Linked DNA regions of Homo sapiens: region 1 is linked to region 2. Evidence: promoter capture Hi-C in 16 types of primary human blood cells and fetal thymus (Javierre and others, 2016). All regions are on one chromosome and are shown on one strand. The core of a region is centred on a gene start or on the middle of the fragment in contact, and the rest is flanking DNA. Distances in the headings are between cores, read along the strand shown.

Region 1 (7,101 bases), core at 2,976-5,475, 450 kb before region 2:
TACTAAAAATACAAAAATTAGCCAGGTGTGGTGGCATGGACCTGTAATCCTAGCTACTTGGGAGGTTGAGGCAGGAGAATCACTTGAACCCAGGAAGCAGAGGTTGCAGTGAGCCGAGATTGCGCCACTGTACTCCAACCTGGGTGACAGAGTGAGACTCCATCTCAAAAAAAAAAAAAAAAAAAAAAAAAAAATCCACTTATCACTGCTGCTAATCAGAGTGTATATTCAGAGAAACCTGAATCTGTGCTCCCCAGCTGCAATCCTGAAACTTGGCCCAAATCAACTCTCTGCTTGTATTAATTTTGCCTCAGCTCCTTCCTTTTAGGTCGTCGGCAGTAGTCAAACTGGGGGTTGTGCCTATTAGGGGATAACGAAACCAATTTTTGTAGGTTGCGATCAGCAACTTTTTCTTACCAAACTCAAAGAGAGCAGAAATAGAACGTTACAGAATATCTTGCATTGTAATTTGGATACATATTAATTCATGAAACTTAATTTCATATACATCTTATGCATTAGAATTATATAATTTATTGGGTCATGATGTAAAATGTATTTCTAACTTTGAGTCAAAGTCAAACTTCTTTACCAAAAGCAAACCCTCTCCAGTTGTCACAGTTTAAAACTCCATGGCAGGCGCAGGCATGGTCTCTCTCTGCCGTATACCCAGTATCTGGCACACAAAAGGTGCTCCACAAAGTCACTGAAAGTTGTTTACAGATGAAAAATGCTTTAGGCTTCAGGAAGGTGCTCGAAGAGGTATTGCGGTGTGAGGCAAAGCACGGTTCAAGGTTTGGTGCACTTCTGTAGCTTTGGGCAAGCCATCCCTAGGCCTGAGTGTTCTCAGCTGTGGTGAAAACCACTTCCAAGGCCCTTTCCAACCCTAAGGTTCAGAGACTGCTCCTGGGCTAACAAAAATTTGCTAAATTCTGACCTCTAGTGGCTGTGTCCACTCATTACTCCTTCCAACTGGGATTGCTGGCATCTATACTTCCAGGCTGTTTCTTCAACATTCACTCCATAGACTTCCTGAACACCTACTATGTGTGCATTGCTGAGCAAGGAGGAGCAAGTAGAGCTTGGCAGACCTGGAGCTGCCACTGGAGTCCACCACACCAGAATTCAAGCCCTGGCTCTACAACTGGGACAAAGTCACTCCCGGGAACAAAACCACTTCCTTCTCAGGGTGGCTGTGTGGATGAGAGACCAGGGGGAACTACTATGATTTGGTTCATCATATCCGTAATCCAAGAAGATGAATGTAACTTAGTTCCTGCTCTAGAAAAGCTTCATCCCTTCCCAAGAAGAAAAGCCTCTCAAGGAGGAAGAGCTGACCAGCAAGCAAGGATAGGTTTGATGATGGAGGGTGAGGGGCTCCAACCACACAGACCTGCACACGGTAGGGAGGAGCAGAGGGAATTTAGTGCTGCTCAGCTTTTAGTTTCTGCAAGGCCTGGATGCTTGGACCCAGGGCTCAAGGTGACTTACAGGCATCCATGGGGCCCAAAGCAGTGATGCTGACTGTCTCAGAGGCCTTCAACTATTTAGTCAGAAAGGCTGTTCTGCTGAGGGTTATCTGGTGAGGCTGTTCAAAAGTGATCTCCAGTCACTTCGGTAATGTGAACTTAGACTCCTCTCTATTTTTAATTTTTATTTTTTGTAGAGACAGGGTCTTGCTATGTTGCCCAGGCTGGTCTCGAACTCCTGGCCTAAGCAATCCTCCCAAGCATTGGGATTATGGGAGTGAGCCACTGTGCCTGGCCTTAGATTCTTCTCTAAGTGAGAAATTATTATAAAACAGTAAAAGTAGGAAAGGCCAGCAAGGAGCTCCCCAGGGGTTAGTACAATTACATAATTCGACTCTTCTGGAACAAACCCACAAGCCGAAGCAGACTTTTCTGAAAAGTGTTTGCCTGGCAGACATAGTTATCTTATGACGGATCACTATGAGCGGTGATAACTGCGCCTTATATTTTCCCAAGAACTTTCACATGTAGCCTGATTCATACTATACCCCATCATACCTCCACCAGAAACCACAAAGGCTAATGTTCTAGAGACCCAAATGACATAAAGATACATTTCAGATATAACCTACTACTATAACTACAAAAGGTTAAACTTCTTTAAGTCTTTTTTAAAAGTTTGTCTTAAGTTTAAAAAAAAAATCCTCCAGTATAAGTAGTGTTATATGGTACTCAGTTTCTACCAAAAGCAGCAGTTCTCTCCAGCTCTGGGATAGTAAAAAATGAACCTGAGCTAAATACATGGGAGATTTTTGAAAAGCTAATGGTATAAAGTAACATTTAGTGAAAGGCTGCCATTTTGGAACTCATCAAATGTTAATTTTCTTCGGTGTGAAATGATTTGGTGATCAAATAGGAGAATTTCTGCATGCTTAGCAAATACAAACTGAAGTTTTTAGTCAATCTAGGTGAAGGGTATATCGGTGTTTATTGTACCAGTCTTTTAATTTTTTTTTTTTTGATAAATTGGAATATTTTCAGAGTAAAAAGTTAGAGATAAAAAGACATGTTCAACATAGAGCTCTTTTGGATAATTTGCCATTGTTGTACCCATACTGAAAGCCAAAATCCAGATTTTGTCAACTTTACTCCAACAATAATACAGCAAAATCCACATACAGATTCTATCTGAAACTGCCTCCTTCCAGATCAATATTAAACCAAGTAGAGGGTGAGCCTTCAGGCCTGCAGGCTAGAGAATTAGGGGTTACCACTTGTGCCATTAGGAAAGAGAACTTCATTTTTATTTAATACTTTTTGGATCATAATTATGCACTGAGTACTCTTCTAACTTTCTAAATGCCAATTCATTTACTTCTTATAAAAACCCATCTTGTAGGTACTATTATTATCCCCACTTTGCATTTAAAGAACCCAAGGCACTTGCCCAACATTACACAGCTAGCAAGTGGCAAAGCCGGGATTCAAACCTAGGCAAGGTGGCTCCAGAGCACAGCTCCTCACAATGCCGCCACATTGCCCATCTTCAGAGAACAAGTATCAATCCTTCAGGGACCTAAGACAGGCTTGATGTTCATAGTCCTTTCATTATTGAAGGGTTAGCCTTTGTGAGACACTCATAAATGACTTCAAGTCCTTCTACCAATCATCCTGACAAGGAAAAACTCCAGGCTATATTCTGTTTGAAAGGCTAGAAAGGAACTAAAGGCCCAGTAGGTATGGTTAGACTGAGGGTCGGATATTTACCTATACATGTAACAGCATGCTGTCCAGCTAATGAAAAGACGTAGGCACTTTCATGTGTACTGTTGACCTCTAGAAGGCAATGTTAGATCTAAAATACAAGGTGTAGGACAATGTATATCGTCGGCTAAACTTCACTTGTGTTTTCTGTCAAGGATAAATAATATGATATGTTTGTAAGTGCATATCTGTATAGTTTATCCCTGATAGAAAACACATATCCAACAGGATATGCAAGTAACTAATAACAACCACTGCCTTTGGAGAGGGGAACACAGAAGCTGGGGCTCAGTGCTGGGAGGGAGTCTGGCTTTTTGGAGTGGATTTTTGCACTGCTTGGCTTTTCATGAGGGGCATACGTTACTATTCTGAATTGCTATGTTATAACATTATGAAGCGGGGTGGTCACAGCAGGTTCCAACACAGTCCTTATAACATCTTTTATCAGCATTCTCAGTAGCTCAGGCTTCAGAATTCAGCTCCTGGGAGTGTAGTAGTGCCAGGTGATTGGCTAGTGGCTTTTAGAGGCTCCCATTCACAGACTGAGTGGCAGGGCCTGTCCACTTGATGAGCTGTGGGTAGATGTAGATGTTAAACCTGCTACTTTCAGGACACTTCAGAGAGCCAAGTCCAAATGAAATGTGAATTCTTTTCATGTGCTTTACTAGCCCTAGGGTTCAATCCATTCTATTCCTAATGCAGATGAAAATAAGAACCTGGCCAGGAGGCCTGCGAATAGGGTGACTGCAGAGATGTTATCTTGGGAGCATCTTCTCATCCCTTCTTGGCTGAGGAATCCCACATTGCACTGCTCTCAAAAGCTCCTTCAATTGTGGACAGATGGGCTTTTCCCTCAACTAAAGGATATTTGCTTTTATTGTTCTGAATGAAGTGAACAAAGTCCATTCACTTGCACTGAAATAATATATTGCTTTGAGTTTATTTTAAGAGCTGCTGTCACACCACTCTGGGATCCGACCTCATGGTTTCTTAAAGGCTAACTAGGGCTGTCTACCATAAACACCAGTGCTGGAAACCTGGCCCAGCTTCACCCACTGACTCAACCTGGCACAGGTCCAGGCCCCAGGGATGTATGGGCCGAAGGACTGGAGGTGGAGTTCACTGGCAGATCAGGGACCTGGGGTCATTAACAAACTTTTCCAACACTTCTTATTATAGTATGTGTTTGCAAAAGCTAGACTTTGAAAAGTCGCCTTTAAGACCGGTCAGTTTACATAGGATTTAAAGATAGACTAATGCTTCCTTCTCTAACTAGTGTGGAAATGGTATTGTTCCTTGTCAGAGTAGCTACAGTTTCAGTGTCTAACCACTAGGGGCTGAACTAACTCTACCAAAACTATTTTCTAAACCATGTCTTTTGCAAATTAACAGTTTCCAAGATGACTGAATTACACCGTTCATAAACAGTCATGTCTAGAACCATCCCTTCCAACACTGAAAGGCTTTGATGTTAGAATAGAGGGAAATGTCAGGTTTGTGTTCAAAGAAGGGGGGCAAGCATGAAATAGGAAATAACACAAATCAGAGAGAACATGAGAAGCAGAATGACATCAAAACGTCCTAGTGTGGTGACCTCACTGTATCAGAATTCCTTGTCTAGCCCCCACCTCATCCTCTATGGAAACAAAATCCCCAGGGTAGAATCTGGGCTCTGAATGTTCAGAGGGCTCCAAGGTTGAATCTTATGTACAGCCAAGATCACAACAACTGTGCTAGCCCAACACTCCTTTAGAGAGGAGATGGAGGCTCAGGGAGGGCAGGTACTTTGACTATCACCTTTCCAAGTCACTACTGGGAAAAGTCCCGGGTCTCCTGACTCTCCATCCAGTGCTCCCCGGGAGACAGTATCCCCTTCCAGGGCACCAGGGCATCACTTGTACATTATACCACTTACGATTTGGTTTCTGGCAGTCCTGCTGAATGATCCGGTGGATCTTTCTGTGCAGGTCTTTGTCTTCTCTGGTTACCTAAATAGGAAAAATAGTTGAGAGAGAGAGTGTTCTTAGGTAACACAGCAGTTGTGTCATCCAGACTTCCAAATTAGTATTCAGGATAGTTTCTAAAGATTACATAATAATCATCTTCCCTACACCATTAATGTGGTGTTTGATACTTGGCCTAGTGTCAAACCAGTTCTGCCCAGAGGACACGTCCTTGGGAGTTGGTTCATTGGGGCAATGAGGTTAAAACAAAAAAAAAGCTGGAATTGCATACTTTTAAGGGACAACTTTCTTCTTCAACACTCATAACACATTTTTGTTATTTGTTGTTATAGTTTTGAGCGAGGCACAGTGATCAAGGCCTCCAATCTCCACCCCATGACTCCTTCTTCTGGGCCCTGACACCTGTCTTGTGTTGCATCAGTTTTCTTGCTTCTCCCAACCACAAGGAAAAATAAAAGGAGAAAAAAAAAAAAAAAACCCTGCAAGGACAGGCTAGCATGAGAGTAAAGCTAGCCTATCCACTGAAACACATTCTGCTCTCAAAGGTAGACATAACTTAGTCTTTTTCTTTTTCCTTTTTTTTTTTTTTTTTTTTTTTTGAGACGGAATCTCACTCTTATCGCCCAGGCTGGAGTGCAGTGGCACGATCTTAGCTCACTGCAACCTCCGCCTCCCAGGTTCAAGTGATTCTCCCGCCTCAGCCTCCCGAGTAGCTGGGATTACAAGCGTGCACCACCACGTCCAGCTAATTTTTGTATTTTTAGTAGAGATGAGGGTTTCACCATGTTGACCAGGCTGGTCTCGAATGCCTGACCTCAAGTGATTCCACCCGACTTGGCCTCCCAAAGTGCTGGGATTATAGGCGTGAGCCACCGCACCTGGCCAACTTAGTCTTTTTTAACCAGCTCAGATTAAGAGGGAAGCAGCACACAACAGGTTTCACCTTCATGTTCCACAGTGAATCTAGTAACAAAAAAAGAGAGAAAGAGAAAGAAAAAAAAGAAACAGAAAAAGAGAGAGGAAGAAAGGAAGAAAGAAAATAGGCATGCAAACAAATAGCTGTAAGTTTCCTCCTTAAAGACAGCCCAAGAATGCCTGTCTGACCTGCCTTACTGGAGGGGGCATCTTGAGAACACCTGCCTTCTCTCAGCTCACAAGGTTATGACGAAGATTAAACAAGGTCATGTGTGAGAGCTGCTGAACCTAGGAAAGCACTAGGCAAACAGAAGTGTTGACTTATTTTAACCATTTCCCTGAGGCAGGGCTTCAGGAGAAAGGTGACTACAAAGCAGTGGAGAGATGAAGTCAGAGATGGCGACAAGAGATCTATTTGTGCTTGATCACAATGATTCACAGGAGGAAGTACCCAGCCCCACCACGCCTTGCCCTGGACTGCTGCTCCTCAGGAAGGGCTGCTCTCTAAAGGCCTGGGAGGAAAGGTGTGTCCCAGAGCAGGGCTCAAGGTGAGCTGCCCCCATAGCTTCTCCAACTTCCAGGAAGCAACCAACTCCCACCCGGCCTTCCCATGCCAGGACTCCCATCCTGGGACGGTGTGGGAGGCACTCGCCCTTATGTAGACTGGGATACCTGCTTCAAAAGTTATTTAAATGGTATTGTAATTTCTAAAATCTCTCTAAAGAGGGGAGTCACTAGGGTAAATCAACATCAGGAAATGTCATATTAAGAAAAGCTCCCCGTCAGGAATCTTGCCTGTGAATAGTGAGACTTCTGGAATACCACAGAATTTGATCAGTCTCTGGGAGAGCTGCACATAACGGAGTCCACACCCACTGATGTCAGTGGTCCTGAGAAGGCCCATTTCCACCTTAGCTCCTCCCAATATTAAAGGTATGCAGCAAAAGGTGAACTTTTAACTTGAAAGAGTGAGGCAAACAAGCACCTAC
Region 2 (6,766 bases), core at 2,198-4,697:
GTTTCTGAGCGGGCACAGCTAAGAGCCATGCCCTGGGACAGGTGACGTGATCCAGGTAAACACCACCCTCTGAGCAATCTGCTGGGCACCAGCTGGCCCCTCCCAGGAGGCATCTTGACTTCCTCACTGATGAGAAGCCTATTTTGTTTAAAGTGCCTATCGACAGTACATAGTGAAATGCTCGGTTCCAGCTAATTAAGCGCTCAGCTGTACGGTGTGGAAACTAAGAGATCATGTATATGGAACTGTGAAATGGAGTTTCAGGAAGGGTTCTTGGACGAACTTGAGAAGGGCATTTGTGGGTGAATGGGACTTCAACAAGGAAGCAAGAGACCACAGATGGGGATTAGGGGTTTGGAAGGTCAGGACAGTTGTCTCACCTCCTTCCACTCGCTCTCTGCCTAGGTCAGGACCCTGCGTGCAGCCACCGCCGTTTCCCTCTGAGCCACACCTGGGGGCACTTACTCATCACCCTCATGCCAGGCCCCAAACTGGATCTGCCACCTCACACCGCCCAGAGATTAAGGAAAGTCACTTGATTCTTGGGCCAGGCTCCCCATCAGCCATCAAGGCCCGGCTTGCCTCTTTTCTTTCCTCCTCTGCCTCCTGCCAGATGAATTTCCCCTCCTTCCTCCACCTGGACTGAGAATGGGTATTTCCTCCTTTGACAGAGAAAGAAAAAGGCAACTGTTCTTCCCCCTTTCCCACGAGGGTTCCCAATTAAACTAGCTTTTTAAGCTTAAGTTGCTTCTTGGTCTATGAATGCCCAGTGATTAAGACTCACCTTCCAGGCTCTGGAACACTTAACATCCCTGTGCCTCAGTTTCCTCATCTGTAAAATGGAGTTAACAATACCTAACTCATACGGCTACTGTGAGGATTAAATGAGTTAATACAGGCTAAGTACTTTTGGGGAAAAAAAAAAAAAGCCTGGCGAATGTTAAGCCCTCAATAGTGGTTGTTTATCAGGGCTGCTGTGTGAATGGTGGACCAGGCAGTGTACTGCTTAAGGCACCTGGCTGAGGGGTGAGGATAAATCCAGCTCACATGCCACTTATCCAGCTATATGGCTTGGCTATGTCCACTCAAGTAAGGCCAGTATTTCTAAGAGGCATCAAGCCCCATCCTCTTGCCAAGACAGAGCACCTTATTCTAATTCATGCGAAGGACTGAATAGGCTAGCAGCAGCCCTGGAGGTTATCATGAACAGTTCTCAGCATCCTCCTGGCTCTGTACCCCTCCCCAGCAAGACTGGATGAGAGAAGGGTCCAGGATGGCCTGGTGTCATCCATAATAAAGTCCTGCTTCTCAGCTCCCAGAACACTTGGAGCACCCACCCCTTCCAAGCAGATTCTCCATTAAAGCCCCACAGGCTGCCGTGCCACCTCAACCCTACTGGGGCAGACTCTCAACTCGAAACATGGAACCTGAGTCTTGGACTCTGAAAGCACCTTCTCCTGCCCAGTTATTTTTTTTTGGGGGGGGGGGGGCAGCGGGGCATTGGGGGGTAGGTTAAAGACAGGGTCTGAACTCTGTCACCCGGATGGAGTGCAGTGGCACGATCCTAGCTCCAACCAAGTGATCCCAACCAAGTGATCCCAGCTCTAAGCCTGGAACTCCTGGGTTCAAGCAATCCTCCCACCTCAGCCTCCCAAAGCTCTGGGAAGACAGGCAGCCACCCAGCCCAGACTCTTTCCTAACTGTTGATGGCTACCTGTCTCTGCTGATAGCTGTGAAAGGAAAATACAACCTTAGGACCCCAAGCTCAGGATGCCAAAGGGAAAAGTTAAGCTTGGGAACTCAGTCATGCAAAAAACAAAACCGAAAACAAAACTGCATTCCTTTTGTTGCCAAACAGATAGCTATAATTTCACATGCTTACTTTATCTTACGTAAAATGTAGATTTACTGAGCATGAGAAGAATGCACCCAGGGAGAGCAGAGAGTCAGTATAACTACTTCATGGTTACCCACAAGTGGAGAAAATCCGAAGGCAGAATGGCCCAGAGCAGCCGCAACATACAGGGAATTAGCAAACAATGAAAGCCACTTAGGCACGAGGGCTGGAGGGAGGACTCAAAAACACAGCCTATTCTGTTTTCGTAAGGAGGAAAGACAGTAATCCACTTTTCTGATACTCTATTTTCAGGGCTCACCTGGGCCTAAAACTGCACCAACCACAGATGAACTTTAGCTGGCAGTCAGATAGACTCGGTTTGTAAAAGGCAAGAGCACTGGGTCATATCCAAAAAAAGAACAAGAAAATAGACCGCGACCCCGATTTAGATCCAAAAGACCAGAGTCCAGATTGCGACCAATATCTGGTACTCTACTGTTTGTGAAATGAGACCAGTATCTGGTACTCTACTAGTTGTGAAAGGGTGCTTTTCTCATACCAGCAGAGGGGCAAAAGGCAAAATGAGGCCCCTGCCTGGTTCCGTAAAATATTTTACCTTCCTGGTCGGTGGCTTTTTTTTTCTTTTTCTTTTTCTTTTTTTAAGAGAAAGCGTTTTGGATGGGGAGTCCCGCCCCGGGAGTCTTCACCAGGCGGCCAGAATGGCAAAGTCACAGGGATGGGGTTGAGGGTGGGGTTAGGGGTGAAGGGGCAGAGAGTTATTTGCAGCCCAAGAGCAAGTCTGCACAGCGTGAGGTCTGGCCCACTAATAGTCCCGAAAGAGGAAGCGGCGGGGATTTTATCCGGCCTGAAGCAGCCCCATAACTTCACTACCATGAACCGAGAAAAAAAAACTTCACGCCTATTCCTCCCTTACAGGAAGGGAGGGAAGGGGAAGGGGAAAAGGGGGCAGCAAATGAGCAGGGCGAACCGGCTTTTCTTTCTTCGGTAGCGCTCTGCTCAGATGTGAGAAGTAACGGGTCACCTGGCCACTAGGAACAAAAATGTGGTCCCGCTCTGGGCTCCGAGGCTGCGCGCGCCTCGAGGAGGAGCTGCCCGCAGCCCTGGCTGGAGCGAGCGCCCGGGACGCATCCCCCGACGCGGCGGGAACAGGATGCGGGACCGCGAGGAGACAATACGCCCGCCTGGGCACGCGCGCTTTAAGGGAAGGGGGTCTCCAAAGTCAGCCCCCACCCGGGAGGAGCAGGCGCCCGCGCTCCCCACACCCTCCTGCGCCCCCTCTGTCGGCAGCCATCTCCGACACAGCTCCTCCGAGCTCGCGCTCTCCATCGCGCCCTTCTTCCTTCAGCACACTAGGCTGCCCTGGGACTTACGATTGGCTTGGGTCCCCGGTCCCGGTCCCCGCCGCGGGAGGACGGCTCCAGCACAGGCTTTGCGCGCAGGTCGAGGGCCGAGGCGCCGCTGCTTGCAGGCGGCTGCGGTGGAGCTTGCGGCCCGGCACTTAGAGGGGCGCGGGCGGCGATGCCCCCGCTGGCTCCCACCTTCTGGCCTGCAGCGGCCGGCTCTACTGAACTTCAGAGTTACTCATTTCCTGGATGTCACAAAAACTTTTTCCTCCTTATAAGAACAAAACACCCGCCTCTACCCGCGGCCCCGGAAGCTCCTTAAGGAGGACCGTGTGGGTTTCGGTGGTTGGGCCCAGGATCCGCCGGGAAGACCTTCCCAGTGAGCCCCCAGAAACTTCCCCGGCACGGCAGAACTGGAGAGTGACTGGGAGAGACGGAATCAGGCCAGTGGAGTAAACTGGAGCGAGTGGACAGGGGCGCGGGGAGGACGCCCTTAAAAGTCGTCCTAAGCCGCGGAGCGGAAGGGGTTAAGTCCTTACCAGTCGGGGAGAGTTTTCTGCGGCGCGTTTTACAAGTGGCGGAATTCCTGGGGCCACCTATTTAGTCTCTTGGAGGAAAATATAACTCTAGACAAAACGCCAGCCTTTTTCTCTTTTGCAGCTTGAAAGGATTAAAATAGCTTACTACCGTTTTTTTTTTTTTTTGAGAAGGAGTTTCGCTCTTGTTGCCCAGGCTGGAGTGCAATGGTGGCGCTATCTCGGCTCACCGCAACCTCCGCCTCCCGGGTTCGAGCGATTCTCCTGCCTCAGCCTCCCGAGTAGCTGGGATTACAGGCATGTGCCACCACGCCCGGCTAATTTTGTATTTTTAGTAGAGAAGGTGTTTCTCCATGTTGGTCAGGCTGGTCTCGAACTCCCTTCTCGGCCTTCCGAAGCGCCTGGGATTACAGGCGTGAGCCACCGCGCCCGACTTTTATGATAATCAAATGCATGGTTGCTTTTCTCCGGGATTAACCGGGCACAAAGGAGAACAGTGACCGGATACTGTACGGGACAGGCGCGGTAGTTTCTGGTTACTGTTGTGACGGTAGATCAAGTGTTACTACCCCTATGTTAGAAACGAGAGAACTGAGGCCTGGAGGAGCAGCAGCAGCGTTCTGGTCGAGCTTAATAGTTTATGAAATCCATAACTTCTATTGTCTTCCCTTTGACCTGCCCAAATCCTACCATCAGTACAAAAGGCAGAGCAGGGTTTGAATGAATTCTCCATTAAGCGGCTTTGGGGGCACCAAATGCCAGTGAAGGCACATTGGGGAAATTGGAACACAGTGTCCAAAATGATCACCATTGCTACTGCTATTTGGTCTTAGATCACCTTTTTTTCGTCTTTTCCTTTAACACTCGCCTGGAAGACTTTTTGGCTGAGTCTGAAAGATAAACAGGCAATGAGAAAATGTTCTAAAAATAGACTCCCTGGCCCTTGGCCCAGGGTACTTTTGTTTTCAAGTTTCTACTGCTGCTCAAATTCTTTCCTTACGTAAGAGGTTATGGCAGAATTTTGGGGGCCAGTATGTGTGTTGGAGGTGGTGGGGGCGATCTGGGGAAACGGTCTTGAAAGAGCTGTATTTCCAAAATGTCTAGAAGTTGGTCCGGTGGGTTACTCACACCCTCCGCAAAGCAGGTGGGGGAAATTTCTGTGAAGTAAGAGCGCTGGGCTGAGCTTTGTCATCCTTGGGCTAAGAGTTCAGCGTTGTGCTGGAATGCCAAGGTTAGTGCTTGAATGCCCTCTGGGATTGTCATCCCGTCTGCAAAGTTGTTTCAGCAATTTCTAACCAGCCATGTATATTTATATAAGGAATATTTATTATATTTGTTTTGCTTTTAACCTGATGATTTCACCTTCTGTGTTCTGATTGGTTCCTGTCTGTTCTAAGGTCCACCCTTCTACCTGGCTTGTAAGTCGTTCATGAACTGGCCTCTGCTTATCTCACCAGCCTCATATCTCACTCTGTGTCCCACACAAAACTCCTTGCAGTTCTTGGAACCTGTGCTTCCCAGAACGTGATATGCTCTTTGATATGCTGTTTGCATGATATGCTTTTTCTCTCCCCTTGGATATTCATATGTACTCTACTTTCTGCCTGCCACAGCCACCCCACCTCCTCCTCCAAACTGTCACCCCAGTGCACATGCATGTTATTTTGCCCGACTAATTGTATGCTCAGTCTTCCTGTCTCAGAACAGGCAGTTACTCCTTCAGGAAGTCTTCCTGGAACCCTCATGTCTGGATTGGACACCCCTCCTGTCGTTTCTACAGAACACTGTGCTAACTCGAGAAATGTTTTTTAAAAGATAGGAAAGTACAAAGATTCAAGTTATGGGAACTTGAGGAGTCAAGAAGTCAGGGAACTCCTGCTTCGAACAGTGAAAGGCTGAATAAAATATATCAACAACGGAAGGGAAGAAAGGGGGTCTCCAGGTGTGAGATAGGTCAAGGGAACTCAAAAGCATGACATGAATATAAGCCCAAATGACTAAGGACCAGGGGTGAGTACCCACTCAGGGATTGGGGTTAGTATCTATTCAGGCCTTGAGTTCTATAAAGACAGGGATCTGGACTTGAGATCTCTGCCTAAGGCTGGAACCCTGGAAAGGCTGCCCTTTAGTAAGAGGAGGATAGAAAAAAGCCCTCTCCCCATTGGCTCAGGGTCGCGGGAAGGAAACTTGTGGTTTATCCCGGCCCTGGATGAATTTTAAAATGTCTTCTATAGAAATGAAAACCCCTAGCCTGCCTATACTATGCATAGGTGTGAGCTCCCAATTTATACTACCCACGTGCTGAGGGAATCCTAATGTCAAGAAAAAACACAAAAAACCTGTTTCAAAGTGGTGAATCCCCTTGGCCCTGTCAGAAGCAAACGTAAAATTCGGTTGTTTATCCTGGTCCCTAGCAGAATAAACAACTCCCATTGAAGTTACAATAAGAAATTAAAATGTTTCATGATAAGAAATTAAAATATTCTTTATATTATTTTAATTTCTTAAAATTAAGAATTATTAATAATCATTAAGCTTATAATAAAAAATTAAAAACCAGACTAGGAAATGAACCACATGAGGGTGTGAACTGGTAAATGTAATAAACAGGAAAATTAGCCCCTTAAGTATCTGAGACAATAGAACAATTTGAAAAAGAGTATCAAATAGTTATGGTCAAAATACAGAGATAAAATGATAGGACATAGGACTATGAAAAAAGAACAGGTAAATTTGAAAAAGTACAGCTATAATATGTAGAAATAAAAAGTTTAGTCATTTACATATAAAAAACCTCAATGATTGAAATTCTTTTTTATTTAGGCAGTTGGTAATATATCAGTCAAAAATCTAATAAAAATAGCTCATTGAAAAGGGGAAAGAAAAGTAATATATTATTGTTTATAAATATATAAATTATTTCAGAAATTTAAAATAATATATTAACAAATAGAATTCCAGCAGCACACCAAAGAATATTACATCATTAATAGATCAAAAGAGAAAAATGGAAAGATCATCACCATATA

What was found. Contacts are between HindIII fragments. The CHiCAGO score rates a contact against its expected background, and 5 or more counts as called.
Region 1: a contact is called between a fragment that was not itself captured here and the fragment with the promoter of ITPRIP in region 2, in 1 of 17 cell types (total B cells). The highest score is 5.9, in total B cells.

What each region holds. Positions count from the first base shown.
Region 1 is chr10:103,883,924-103,891,024 of GRCh38, forward strand. STN1 (STN1 subunit of CST complex) reads right to left here. Exons shown (of 10, transcript NM_024928.5): 9 at 5,149-5,221. Among named protein-coding and RNA genes, the nearest start is that of STN1, 31 kb to the right of the region's middle. The HindIII fragment of the contact is 5,875 bases long and covers 1,289-7,101 here.
Region 2 is chr10:104,335,018-104,341,783 of GRCh38, forward strand. ITPRIP (inositol 1,4,5-trisphosphate receptor interacting protein) reads right to left here and starts at 3,448. Exons shown (of 2, transcript NM_001272013.2): 1 at 3,229-3,448. It also overlaps a transcript of CFAP58 not described here. RefSeq lists enhancers at 2,126-2,325, 5,074-5,368 and a cis regulatory region at 4,591-6,010. The HindIII fragment of the contact is 4,481 bases long and covers 1,790-6,270 here.